Regions from separate parts of the Homo sapiens genome. Here region 2 is linked to region 1. The links are contacts of gene promoters, found by promoter capture Hi-C in blood cells and fetal thymus (Javierre and others, 2016). All regions are on one chromosome and are shown on one strand. The core of a region is centred on a gene start or on the middle of the fragment in contact, and the rest is flanking DNA. Distances in the headings are between cores, read along the strand shown. Region 1 holds the start of SAMD8 (sterile alpha motif domain containing 8). Region 2 overlaps VCL (vinculin).

Region 1 (6,474 bases), core at 182-2,681:
TATTTTTCCAAATCACTCTACTAAAAATACTATTCACACAATACCTGCAAAATAGTATTTCAATATTGGTTTTGCCAATCAGTCAAAGGTACCTCTCCAATTTTCAAGAGATAAGTCCAATCCTGGGGTTATCAGTGAGAGGAAGATTTGGTATTGCGCCTAGACTGTGGCAAGTTCACTGTGCCCCCTTCACCCAGAAACTTGCATTGACCATACATTTACTATGTGGCAAATACATGTGTCAACTTAAAACTTTGAAAGTGGAACCAGTCCATGTTGAGTATCTGTAAAATCCAAGTGTCCAAATTCTTGTTTCAAGTTTAATTTTTAAAATCTGAGTATCCAAAGTCTTGTTTCAAGTTTTTAAAACTTAAAGGTAATATAGTAAATTTTTAGGATCTTAACATGTCTGGTATTTAAACTTAGCTACGAAAAAATTACAATGAAAAAAAGGACACCATTACTGTCAATAAATCCAAATGATATCTTCATTTTCAGAATCACGTCTTCCACTACCTTCTTCAAACATCACTTCCTCTCCACTACTTCCCCCAGTCCTTTAGGCAAATCAGTGATTCACACCGCCCCTTCCACCCAAGATTCTTAAAATGATCCACTGTGCACGAACGAGAAAGCCCCACGATCCAAGTACATTGCCCTAGTGATCTTTGATGTTTTAAAAGGCACCTGTAAAAATGCCAAAGCCCAAAATTAGATCCCCAAGGGCTCCTTTTCTTTCTTGACCACACTTCTCTTTTTCAGTGCCTCCCTCACCCCTTGAGGCCAGACGATTTCCCATCCAACAGCCCTCCTCCTTCTAGTCAAACCTAAATCCTGCCCTCCATCACCACCAGCCCCACCCGGGGTGGGAGGCGGATAAGAGGGCTCCGTAAGAGGAGAACCCCATGAGAGGGCTCCAGTCCCAGCCCCGATCGCCCTCCCTCGCCCTGGGAAGGGAACACCGGCCCAGGTCTTGCTCCTCTGACTCCTCATCCCCGCTGCCAAACCCAGAGCATCTCTTCTTCCGGGTCCACATTCCCGCAGGACCTTCGATCTTTTTCCCCCACTGCGCAGCTTTCAAAAGCCCCCAAGCTCTGGGCTCTTCAAGCCTCCCCCTCTCGCTCTCTCCCTCTCGTTCCTCGGCCTCCACTTATCCCTCAGCCTTCAGGCCCTCAGTTCGACAACCTCCATTTGCTTCAGATTCCATTCCAGAGCTGACTATCCCGGTTCCCTCAACCGTCTCCCCGGGGCCCCTCCAGGTCGCGGTCCCTCGGCAGCCCCCGGCTCCATCCCAGACTCCCCACTCACCCTTGGCAGCAGGCGCCCCCCAAGCTCCCCTCTCCTCAGCCTCAGCTCCCGCTCACCTCCGCGGTCCGAGTCGGGCTCCCCGGACCCACCTCCGAGTCGGCGTCCGAGCCGCCGTCGGAGTCCGGGGCCCTCCCCGCCTCGCCGGAGTGAAGCGCCTCAAGCGGCGGGGGCGGAGCCCGGGGCGGGGAGCCGGAGTGGAGGCGGGGGCGGTGGCGACTGCGCGCAGGCATCGTCCCGGCCGCCGTCACCGCCGCGCCGGCAGCTGCTCGGAGCCGAACCGGAACTGCTTCGGGAGGCGGGGCCCTACCGGCCGGGGACGGGGTTCTACCGGCAGGGGGCGGGGCCCACACTGGAAAAGACGCGAGGCTCCAGATGGGCCCGAGAGGAGAACCGAGATGCTGCCGCGGAGGAGCCCGAGGGCGCATGCGTCATGCCGGAGGCCAAAGCGACAGGAGGAAGCGGGGCTAGCGGAGCCGGGGCGGGGCCTGTGGGATCAGTAAATGGGGTTAGGGCCTAGAAGGAGGTAATCCGAATTCCTCTGGAGAGAGCCAGCTCTTCTCCAATAGCCAGCCCCCAATGATCATTGTTATAATTTATTGCCCATTTACTCTTTGACAGTGTCTATGCCAAACGCCATATAAACATCTCATTTAATCCTTGTGCTAAGGCCGGGAGCGGAGGCTCACGTCTGTAATCCCAGCACTTTGGGAGGCTGAGGCGGGATCACCTGAGGTCAGGAGTTCGAGACCAGCCTGGCCAGCATGGGGAAACCTCGTCTGTACTAAAAATACAAAAATTAGCCGGGCGTGGTGGTGCATACCTGTAATCCCAGCTACTCGGGAGGCTGAGGCAGGAGAATCGCTTGAACCCGGGAAATGGAGGTTGCAATGAGCCGAGATCACGCCATGGCACTCCAGCCTGGGCGACAAGAGCAAACTCCATCTCAAAAAAAAAATCCTAGTGCTAATTCTGCAAGGGGGATCCTATAGCACAGAAAAGTAAAGAAACATACTGCCTGACATATTGCAAACTGATATTCCAACCCAAATCTCTCTAACATCAGATCCTGTATTTTCCTCACTCCACCATGCTGCACCACCCTGAGGGAAGGTCTCCTCCCAAGCCAGGTCTAGCATTGGCATAAACCAAGTCCAAACCCAGCTGTAACCTGGACACGAGCCCCTCCTTGGTCTTGCCTCCCCACACAGTGCCGGGCCGACTTCAATGGTTCTGAATGGGATAGACATGAGTGTAGACTGCTTCCATGGGATGCCCTGGTGTGGCCTTTCCCTTCAAACTGGTCTTAAGGCCAAGGGCAGCTGGGAACCTCCCCACTGCAGCTCATACCCTTCCCAGCTCCATTAGGGCCACTGAGAAGTCACATGAGAGAGGGTGAGACATCTCATCTCTCTTGCTGATAACCAGCTCTGGCAGAAGGACAGGTTGACCTTTCTCAGTTTCTATTTTGGGACCCAAAGCCCTTATAGGCAGAGGAATCTCCCTCCCACTGTTTCTGATGACAGTTAGCCCCTTTGGCTCTCAAAGTCTAGGGCAACACTCACCTCCCGTCTCCCCATTTGACATACAAGGCCCTCTTCAGCCTTCTCTTCTGAGAAGTTAGCCATCTTCACTACAGGACCATTGTTCAAACCTTGCCCCATTGGCCCGGCACGGCGGCTCACACCTGTAATCCCAGTACTTTGGGAGGCCGAGGCAGGCTGATCACTTGAGGTAGGAGTTCAAGACCAGTCAGACCAACATGGCAAAACCCCATCTCTACTAAAAACACAAAAATTAGTGTGGCATGGTGGCACATGCCTGTAATCCTAGCTACTCAGGAAGCTAAAGCAGGAGAATCACTTGAACCTGGGAGGTGGTAGTGGCAGTGAGCCAAGATGATGCCACTGCACTCCAGCCTGGGTGACAGAGTGAGACCCTGTCTAAACAAAACAAAACAAAAAAAAACACCTTCCCCCTCCCCCCATGAATCTTGTGGGCACCCTTTAAAGGAAGCTCTCCATGTCTCTTACCCATATTTCTCTGACTCTACAACTCAGAAAACTGTCCCTGACCTCCGTAATTCAGAGACTCATCCAACAGACATCCAATCCAGCTCCTGCCCAATTTGTGGCCCACCTAGACTGTACACTTCTTTCAGTTCTTTCTATCATTCATCCTTGGAACCAGCCACCTCCTCTGCACCCTGGATCTCTACTTTAACTCAGTCCTCAGAACCTAATAGCCTTAGGCAGGGCTCTACATCTACTAATTCCACAGATGTTTCTAAGCACCTACTATGTGTCAGACCCAGCATGTCCTTTGTTTCATCTAATCCTCAAATTCTCTGAGGTAGGTGTGATTATCCTTACTTTACAGATGAAGAAACTGAGGTTCAGGGTGGTAGCTGACTTGCAGAGGTCTCTCTGATTCTGTGTTCTCATGGAGTTTGGGGGTGGGGGGAGGCTTGGGGAGGAAAAGGTCTTGTCCACTCCAGAGGCCCCTGTGACTTGCTGAGTCACTTGCTTCTGTCACCTGTCCCTGTCAATCTCTGGGAAGGAGAAATGACACTGGAGAGGCAGAGAGGAGTGACCACAGAGGCAGAGGGGTGGGCGGGCTGGCCCATGGCTGAGACCTCTCTCCCAGAGCTGGGGGGAGAGGACAAAGCCACGCCTTGCCCCAGCATCCTGGAGCTGGAGGAGCTCCTGCGGGCAGGGAAGTCTTCTTGCAGCCGTGTGGACGAAGTTTGGCCCAACCTTTTCATAGGAGATGCGTGAGTGGTAGCTGGCCAAGGGGCATGGGGGTGGGGACGTGGAGAGGCAGTTCTTGGTCGCTTTACCAGACACAGGAGGGTGGAAACAAGGAGAAATAGCTCTGCTCTGACCATCCCAGGCCAGGGACCTTCTCCAGGACCCCCGGGGGTGCTGAGGTCAGTGCAGTGACCAGGTATGGCCACCAGGGAGAGCAGGGACTTCGCCTGCCTGAAAGCAGGGAGTCTCCCAGGAGTTCCAGGAAACATTTCCAGGACAACTGTCAAGTGTAGAGGCAGAGGCCCAGGAAATAGTATTTGGGGCATGAGATAAGGTAGACAGAGAGCCCCCTGTTTCTGGGCCCAGCCTCCCTCCTCTGGATACAGACGGTGGAGAAGCCTGACTGAAGGTGAATCAGAGAAGGTGTTGCCTCTAAACATTTGTAGGTTAGAAGCAGGTATGAGGTGGTAGCCAGTAGAGGACGGATATGCGTGGGAGGACATGGGGCAAGAAGGGAGGGGCAGCCAGGTTCCAGGGCTGAAGCAATCCCTTCCTTCCTGTCCTGGCCAAGGCAGGGACAGATGCATTGAGGAAGCAAAGAGGGTCTAAAGATCCCCCGACACACACACCGCCGGCTCAGCCACCAGAAAGTGCGGGGCTCTGGGTATAGGGCTGTGGAGTCAGACCCCACTTGGAGCTTGCTGGGGTTGGACTCTCTTTGGACCCTAATGGCTCGGTCCCTCTGCAGCAGGGGGCCAGGCACAGCCTCCCTCCTGGTCCCATGGCTTGGCCGGCATCAAGTGCCCTTCCTGCCCTCCCCAGGGCCACGGCAAACAACCGCTTTGAGCTGTGGAAGCTGGGCATCACCCACGTGCTGAACGCCGCCCACAAGGGCCTCTACTGTCAGGGCGGCCCTGACTTCTACGGCAGCAGTGTGAGCTACCTGGGGGTGCCAGCCCACGACCTCCCTGATTTTGACATCAGTGCCTACTTCTCCTCTGCGGCTGACTTCATCCACCGTGCCCTCAACACGCCTGGGGGTAGGACTTGGGGTCCAAGCCCATATCCCATCTTGCTCATTCATGGGGAGGATGCCTCATTTCCTCTCAGTCATCAGTGCCCTCCCATCCCTGCTTTTTAAAAATCCTCTGCTTAGGCCGTGTGTGGTGGCTCATGCTTGTAATCCTAGCACTTTGGGAGGCCGAGGTGGGTGGATCGCCTGAGGTCAGGAGTTCAAGACCAGCCTGGCCAACACGGTGAAACCTCGTCTCTACTAAAAATACAAATATTAGCCGGGCATGGTGGCACCCACCTATAATCTCAGCTACTCTGGAGGCTGAGGCAGGAGAATTGCTTGAACATGGGGGGCGGAGGTTGCAGTGAGCCGAGATCATGCCACTTCACTCTAGCCTGGGCAAAAGGGCGAAACTCCATCCCCCCCCGCCAAAAAAAAGTCCTCTGCTTAGTGCTCCAGCATTTTGTCGAACCCGATTCCTTCCCAGATGGGGAAACTGAGGCCTGGAATACAAGGTCATGCCATGAGTTAGGAGCAACCCTGAGGCTGAAAGCCATTTCTCCCAAACAGCAGAACAGCTCTTTCTCTGCAACACTCAACTTTGGGAAAGCACCATTTGGTACCTAGATGTCTGCCCCAAAGTACTTTTTTTCTCCTTTTTTTTTTTTTTCTGAGACAGAGTCTCAGTGCTACCCAAGCTGGAGTGCAGTGGCGCGATCTCTGCTCCTCCGCCTCCTGGGTTCAACCTCTGCCTCTGGGCTTCAAGCAATTTTCGTGTCTCAGCCTCCCAAGTAGCTGGGACTACAGGCATCCGCCACCATACCCGGCTAATTTTTGTATTTTAGCAGAGACAGGGTTTCACCATGTTGGCGAGGCTGGTCTCGAACTCCTAACCTCAAGTGATCTGTCTGCCTCGGCCTCCCAAAGTGCTGGGATTATAGGCATGAGCCACCGCACCCGGCCCCCAAAGTACTTTTAACTAGAAAAGAAATATATCTTCAAATACTCAGGATACAGCATAGGAGCCCAGGGAGGCTGGTGTCCTGGCTTTGTGTCCATCCTAGAAGACAGCTGTGTCCCTCACTGTGTGACCCTGGGCAAGCCAGTGTCCCTTTCTGGACTTCAGTTTCCTCATCTATGTGACAGGAATGACAAGATTACAGCTCACATGACTTTTTAGTATCCAACACACTTTGACATTCTTTTGCTATTTATCCATTCATTCACCAGCTATTTACTGAGTATCCACTACGTGCCTGGCACTGAGCTAAATACTGGGAATCCAGACTTTAAGAAGCAGGATCCCTGCCCTCTTGGAACTGGTGGAAAGACAGCCAAATTGCGAATAGTATAGTGAGAGCTACTCATAAGAGTGGGCCAGTGTGGAGGGCTCTGGGAGCACAC
Region 2 (6,876 bases), core at 2,988-5,487, 1.0 Mb after region 1:
AATTTTTCCCACGTAAAAGGGTAAAGAATCAATTCTTCAGTCCCCTCAGCTAAGTGAAGACTCCAGTTAAAGGAACCTTCAGCTAAGAGGATGCAAGAGAAGGCATTAGGAAAATAAAAGTCGTGATTCAGGCTGTAAATGGAACCCTCACTCCAAGGAATGGCAGTTTATCTTAGACTTGGCATTTTGGTTTACTAAAACCCTCATGGGTCATAGTAAAGAAACAGACAAGTTATGTATTCTGTGCCCTCTCATGAAAGCTCCTCTTTTGGCTGCTAACAACCCCAAGTCATAGCAACTGCAGTGTTCAAAACTAGCTAAAAGTCCAGGCCCTACTCATTTTTCCCCTCATGCTCTTCATTTCTCTACAGTGCAGTGAGGCATACACAAACCATACCACTGCAGGGTGCTCTGCAAGAGGCCTCTACAGGCACCATGAAGCGGTTCATCATTTATGCTGGAAGGGTGTAACATCTCAGGCAGTAATTGAGGCCGGAGAGAACGCAGGTATGGGAAGAAGTCAAGAAGCAAGGGGTATGTTAGACAAGGTCCTCTGGGTCTACCTCTTCTAGTGCAGACCTAGGATCATTCCAGGACCCCATCACGTTGGTTAGAAGATAGCATAGTGCCATGGTTAGTGACTACCCATCACTCTTCAAAGCCTTTCTTCTTGCAGCATGCCACCTTTAAAGGGAAAAGTGATCACCCCAATCACCCTACTCTCCAAACTAGCTTTGGTTCATTCCCCAAGGCCAAAGTTCTATGGCGGCCTGTCTTGTGGCCTTGAGTACTCCATTTCCCACTCCCATTCCCTCCCACTGAGATACCTGGACAAGCAGTCAGTGAGGCCCCATTTTCTGTGGACTCCCATCAAGGCCAGCATCTGCCACATAGCCAAGTGCAGGGCAGCAAGCAGTCCTCCCCCAGAGACCCTGCCCTATAAAGCTGCCTCTCCCCCTCATCAACTCTCCCTGAGCCATCAGTGAGGGGTCAGTTGGGAGCAGGCAAAGCTCAATGGTCAGGCCAGGTGACCTCGTAATGGTCTACCATGGTTCCTGACCTGGAAGTCATTGAGAGATGCATTCACGGCTTCCCAAGGGGTTTCCAGCGATGGCCACAAAATCAGTAAGAAAAGGAATCCTTTCCAAAAGTGACCCCCCCCATCTCTCTTCATCCCCTAAACATAAATGCAGTCCAATTAATCTGGCGTTAGCAGACCTATCAAACTTGTGAAGCCAGTCCTAACAACATGGTGCAGACAGACAGATGCCCGCCCTGCTCAGACTCACAGGACCAGCACAGATCATGAGTGATGCAATGTGTCAAGGCTGCACATGGCCGGATGCATATGGAGCAGCCCCCAACTGGGGGTGCTTATCAGTACCTTACTAGACCACTTGGTAGCTTCCCGATGCAAGGACTGAGCCGCGGCCAGAATGGGCTGGTTGACCGGCTGATTGGATGGCATTAACAGCAGCTCAGGTTCGTAATCGTCTTCCATGTCAGGGGGGACAGGGAAGCCAGCAGCATCGGCCGCATCTGCCTCAGCTACAACACCTATACCCACCTCAGCGGCTGGGATGCCCGGCTTTGTCGATGGCGGGAAGGATGAGAAATAGGGATAGTGTTAGTAAGAGCAATACGACTTGGGAAACTGGGCTTCAGCTGGTTTAGTAACCAAAGCCTGCCTAGGATGAGAAAGAAACATGTTCTCTAGGAGCCTTGTGTACCAAGCTTCACAGAAGGGGGAATTCTCAGCCTCCAGCGCCACTCAGCCCAAGCCACTGTGTGGTGAGAGAAGAAAAGGGACTCACTCCAATGGCAAAGGGCTTCTAGAGAAATCTTTACACCAAGAAAGCAAGTGGCATCCATTTCTTTAATATACTTGATACTAAAGTCAAACTTGACAAGAGTGATTCTCACATGAGAATATTTCTGAGGAGCCAAACAACCAAACGATAGTAGCAAATTACCTTTAAAAGGAATCCGGAGAGAAAAAGTAAATGCAGCCACACAAGTTACTTTGTACAGAACAAAGTGAACACTGCTGGATCATATGGTCACTGTTCTACATTTTCCTGGGACACAGGAGGCAATTTGGGTCAGCTCTGCAGCTGCCAGACATAGATTATTTCCTTCATGAGTTAAAAGTCCCAGAATTAAAAATGATACATCAGAGGTAACGAATACCAAACTAGGAAAGAGGCAGGAAAAACAAACACAATGGTGACTGAAGAGAACTTAAGTACCCCACTGTCACCCAGCTGTAAGGAGCCTCAAGAAGCCACCTCGTCAGCCGCCCATCTCAGGGAACACCCACACATCAGACCAGCTCTCTATCCCCTCAAGGTCTTCTGAGGCAAAGCTTCTACCATCTCTTTTTGCATCCATTGCTAGTACCACCTCAGAAAGCTTCTCCTTGGGTACAACCTAAATTGCTTGCAAAATAGGTTCTCACTCACCCCAAACTCTGCTTATCTAGTTCACAGATAGAATAATATGTGAACTTGGCAAGTGACTGCAGCTGAGCTCACAGAAGCTCAGAAGAATGGTGCTCATTTAAGAATGAGAATCATGATGGAGAGAACATGAATTTAGAACCAGGGATGGAGATTATAAAAGCCAGATGCTGAAAATAGACTAACATGGAAAGAAAATTAAAAACTGCCACAATGAAGCCAAACCATTTATACAAAGAATGATGAATACAGGTTCTTTACATCAAACATCTGTACTCAAGAGGAAGTAGTTTATATGGAATTTTCTTTGAGGTTGTTACCACTCCTAAAAGTCTTAACCTGCACATGAAACCTGACTCCAAAGGGTGACGATGTTGGAGGATTCAGGGCCAACAAGGGGTTCAGATACCATCTAAACTCTTTTGCCTAAACTCAACCAAGACCCATCTCTGCTGCTCAGAAGAAAAGCCAGCTCACTGCTGCTAAGGCTCAGAGTCCCACAGTGTACAAAGACAGATAGGTTGACAGACACACGAACAGATATTCCTCCCCAGCCCAGTACACACATGGTTCAAGTAGCTTCTGACTTCACACAACTCAAAGTCAGCAAACTCCTGATCTTGCACACTTCAGGAGATAGACCTCAGGACTTCTGGCCACAAATGGCAGAGTGGGGCAAGTAATGTGGGCCAATGCTGTCTGCTTTTAAGTTTGTTTGTTTTTTTAAATAATTCATGTATATTTTTTGTTCTGCATAGTGTATTTTGGTTCATTGTAATGAAATTTAAATTTCCTTTAAAATCTTCACTGTCACCCTCCCCCACTCCCCATGCACAGTGGGGCTCTGCCACATGCAGTTGGAGAGATACCATTATAAATAATTCTACAGGTCAGGTCCAACACCAGCAAAGTCTCCCTTCCTTCTTAGAACCTGGGCTCACAGCTAACAGTTCAGCAAAATACAGAGTTAAAAACCAATGTGAATTTCCCAGCCTGAAAAAAATCCAAGATCAGCTGCAGGTGCAGGAGGTCCCTGAGGAAATACAATCGACACAAGAGCTTGAAAGCTTTGAGGATGTGTAAAGAATAAAGGCAAATAGGTGGTGGGAATAAAGATCTAGGGTCATAAAAACATTAAAAAAAAGATCTAGGGTCATATTAGAAACAGTTTAGAACTAAGAGCTACCTTTCACTGCAGGGTTAGCAATAATATTCCTCTTATCTAGAAAAGCTACTGCTCACTTTTCATCATTTAGGGGAAAATAGGCAAAAGTTATTCATAGGGCAAGACTGCTGTAGCATCCATATTTTTACCAACCACATTAATATTTACACCTTCAGATTTGCTGAGTAAGAGACAGCCTGGAGCTGTCTTGAGTTGACAGGTGAAATGATTCTGAGAAAGGACAAAAGCACATGGCTTCTAAGATACCAATCTACTTGCTTCTGTGGAAAAAAAAAGAAAATGCAAACATTTCATCTAGCTTTAGCACAGCCCACACAATTCATATTTGGAGCTCTGATCATTAGCAATGTAGCATCTAAAAACATTTGCAGTTCCAAGAAAGATAAGCAATTTCTAAAAGACCCCAAATGCTAAGGTCAAGGCACCTGGCACTCTAATGGACAAAGGACAGGAATCCTCTTCTCAAATCACAGGCACCCTGACTCTGGCTTTTGCAAGCTTGAAGGAGAAACCATCAGGTGTCAGAAACATCTCACTAAAGCACAGGTAAGAAGAGGAATATGCTATTGGCAACACAGGAACCAAAGGAGAGAGAGAGGGTGACTCCAAATAGACTCTTCTTTCTGGGTCTTTCATGGTCCTTCATCCTTTCCGAGAAGACATCCTTTCTCAACAAGAAAAGCTTCACTACTTACCTTGCTGGACCATTTGCGAGCTTCATCATGGAGCTGTCTGGCAGCCATCATCATTGGCTGGTTAATCACCTCCCCGGCCTTCTGCTCAGGGAACTCTTCATCCTTTTCCTCTGGTGGTGGAGGCCTAGGTGGAGGGACCTCACCTTCAGGCAGAGGTGGTTTGGGAGGAGCAAGCTCATCTGTTAGCTAAAAAAGAGAAAACAAGTTGTAAGTAAAGTCCTAAAACTACTCCCCCCTGGAATTCTTTCCTTTCTTCTAAAAAGCATCCCTAGAAAACCCACCCATATTGACTCCACATAAGACCACCCACACTGAGCCACAAGGACCACCTGCTTCAATCTCAACAGAAGCAGGTTTCTCTACAAAAAGCTAGCAGTGGCCGGGCGCAGTGGCTCACGCCTATAATCCCAGCACTTTGGGAGGCCAAGGCAGGTGGGTCACCTGAGGTCAGGAGTTCGAGACCAGCCTGCCCAAAATGGTGAAACCCCATCTCTACTAAAAACACAAAAATTAGCCGGGCATGGTGGCATGTGCCTATAATCCCAACTACTCAAGAAGCTGAGGCAGGAGAATTGCTTGAACCCGGGAGGCAGAGGTTGCCGTGAGCTGAGATCATGCCACTGCGCTCCAGCCTGGGCGACAGAGCAAGACTCCATCTCAAAACAAGAAAAAAAGAAAAAAAAAAAAGGCTTGCAGCTACTGTTTTGGTTGCATCCCAGGGAAGTATACACAGTGCTACCAGATGAAGGATTCTCAAAAAGTCCCTACAGAAGATGTAAGTTGTGGTCCTGGTTCTACCAGAAAGCAGCTACATAGGCAAGTAACTTCTCCCCTTGGCCTGAGGTTCCTCATCTGTCACTGAGGGGTAGCTAGACCAAATGACCTCTAAGATCCAGATTCTAAATGACATAACTCTGTTGCTCACATAAGAAGCCATTCCCAGGAATAGCCCTCTCTCCCAGCTCTAAACACCCACCAAGCACCCAGCTGGGAAGAATCTAAGATGCGTTGAAGGCTGGGAAACACTGTTCCTTAGCTGTGTGTGCGATGACACAATTTTGTACTCAACCAACTTAAAAACTTAACATCTTTTACTGACATTAAATATGGGAAAGTAAATCAGATTATTGCCTTGATAAGTTATTTACAAAGTCAAGGTATTTCTAATACTGTTAGTTGGAATAAGTGTCTAGAAATAATCACTATTTCTGTTTCTGGAATTTGTGTCTGCAACATACTGCCTAGCTAGCTTCTTCCTACACCATGTAAAAATATATTCACAGTACTTGCGGGGGGTAGTGGGGAAGGTATCTAAAGATCTTAAATTATAGTTAGGGAAAAATTTTTTAAAAGCATGTATCTTGTTACTTAAAAAAAAGTCAAATAAAGGAAAGAACCAACACAAGATTTCAACCACCTCGGTTCTACCATTATCAACTAAGAACACACCAAATCTCCTTACTCCAAGCTGTGCAGATTATTTTACCACAATGCACTACCTCATCACTCATCACATCCACACTTACCAAAGCCAGCTCCTCTGCTCCAGCCGCTCCCCATCACAGCAAGCCACTACCACACACACCAGTACTACACACACACACACAACCCATGCATATAAGCACTAGGTTATAACTCCACTGGATTTAGGAATGAAAATCGAGATCTGCCTCCCACTAAGCTTCAAATGAAAGCTAAACGAAGCCACCTAGTGATGGAGGCTCTAAAACACAATCTACCTCTCTCTTGCTGAAGTCTCAACACCTTCCTGCTCAATTCTCTGCATATCTGAATTTACTTACTCGGAGTTGTTCAAGGTCTGGTGGAGGCGGCGGGAAGTCAGGCTCCTGAGGTTGGAAGGCTTCTCTGACCTTGGCCACAGCTCCCAGGATCCGATATCCTGAGTCCAGGAAGCTCTTTTGCAGTCCTAAACACAAGACATCCTCACTTTCAGCTGGGTGGGTCAGTGCCCCAAAGCACTGTCTGTGCAGCAGCAGAACTGGTTCCATGAACAAAAGCTGGATGTGAAGCTGCCAGTAAATATCACGGGCAGTGATTGAAGAAGGGGGGAGGCAGGACAAGGCAGATGCCCTGAGGCCTGCAGAGCATTGGAAGCATCACAAACCAGCTGTTCTTTTAGTGTTCAGGGTGCCTTCTTGGCTGTACAACTAAAAAGTACCCAGGAGATCCCTGGGCATGAACACTTTGGGCTCAGGTGGCATCCATCACCTCTCTTATGATGAGGCAGTCAAGAGATAAGCCTGCCCAACTCAGAACATGGGAGATGTCAGTTTCAGATTGGACATACATTCCCTGAAGTACTTCTCACCTTTCTCTCTACTCCTTTGCTGTCCTTGGCATTCAGTATGTTAACCCTTATGCTGAGCTGCGCTACTCTGTTCAGTTGCCTGGAATTCAGGAATCTACTCTACTATTAGAAACTCCAATTAGGAAACCAAGCATGTCCTTAGTGATAATGGGTTTTGGATATTAGAAAGATTCTGCCTGAACCAGAGATGAATAGGGGAGCCCCTCC

The links. The method cuts DNA at HindIII sites, captures the fragments that hold promoters and counts their contacts. A CHiCAGO score of 5 or more calls a contact.
Region 2: a contact is called between a fragment that was not itself captured here and the fragment with the promoter of SAMD8 in region 1, in 1 of 17 cell types (total CD8 T cells). The highest score is 5.2, in total CD8 T cells.

The regions. Positions count from the first base shown.
Region 1 is chr10:75,106,613-75,113,086 of GRCh38, reverse strand. SAMD8 (sterile alpha motif domain containing 8) reads right to left here and starts at 1,431. Exons shown (of 6, transcript NM_001174156.2): 1 at 1,365-1,431. It overlaps DUSP13A (dual specificity phosphatase 13A), which reads left to right and starts at 3,930. Exons shown (of 3, transcript NM_001007271.3): 1 at 3,930-4,078; 2 at 4,878-5,095. The coding sequence starts at 3,930. It also overlaps a transcript of DUSP13B not described here. RefSeq lists enhancers at 723-1,671, 1,672-2,621, 6,267-6,474 and a silencer at 1,345-1,684. The HindIII fragment of the contact is 16,308 bases long and covers 1-6,474 here.
Region 2 is chr10:74,106,621-74,113,496 of GRCh38, reverse strand. VCL (vinculin) reads right to left here. Exons shown (of 22, transcript NM_014000.3): 17 at 6,143-6,267; 18 at 4,341-4,526; 19 at 1,385-1,588. Among named protein-coding and RNA genes, the nearest start is that of AP3M1, 41 kb to the left of the region's middle. The HindIII fragment of the contact is 184 bases long and covers 4,146-4,329 here.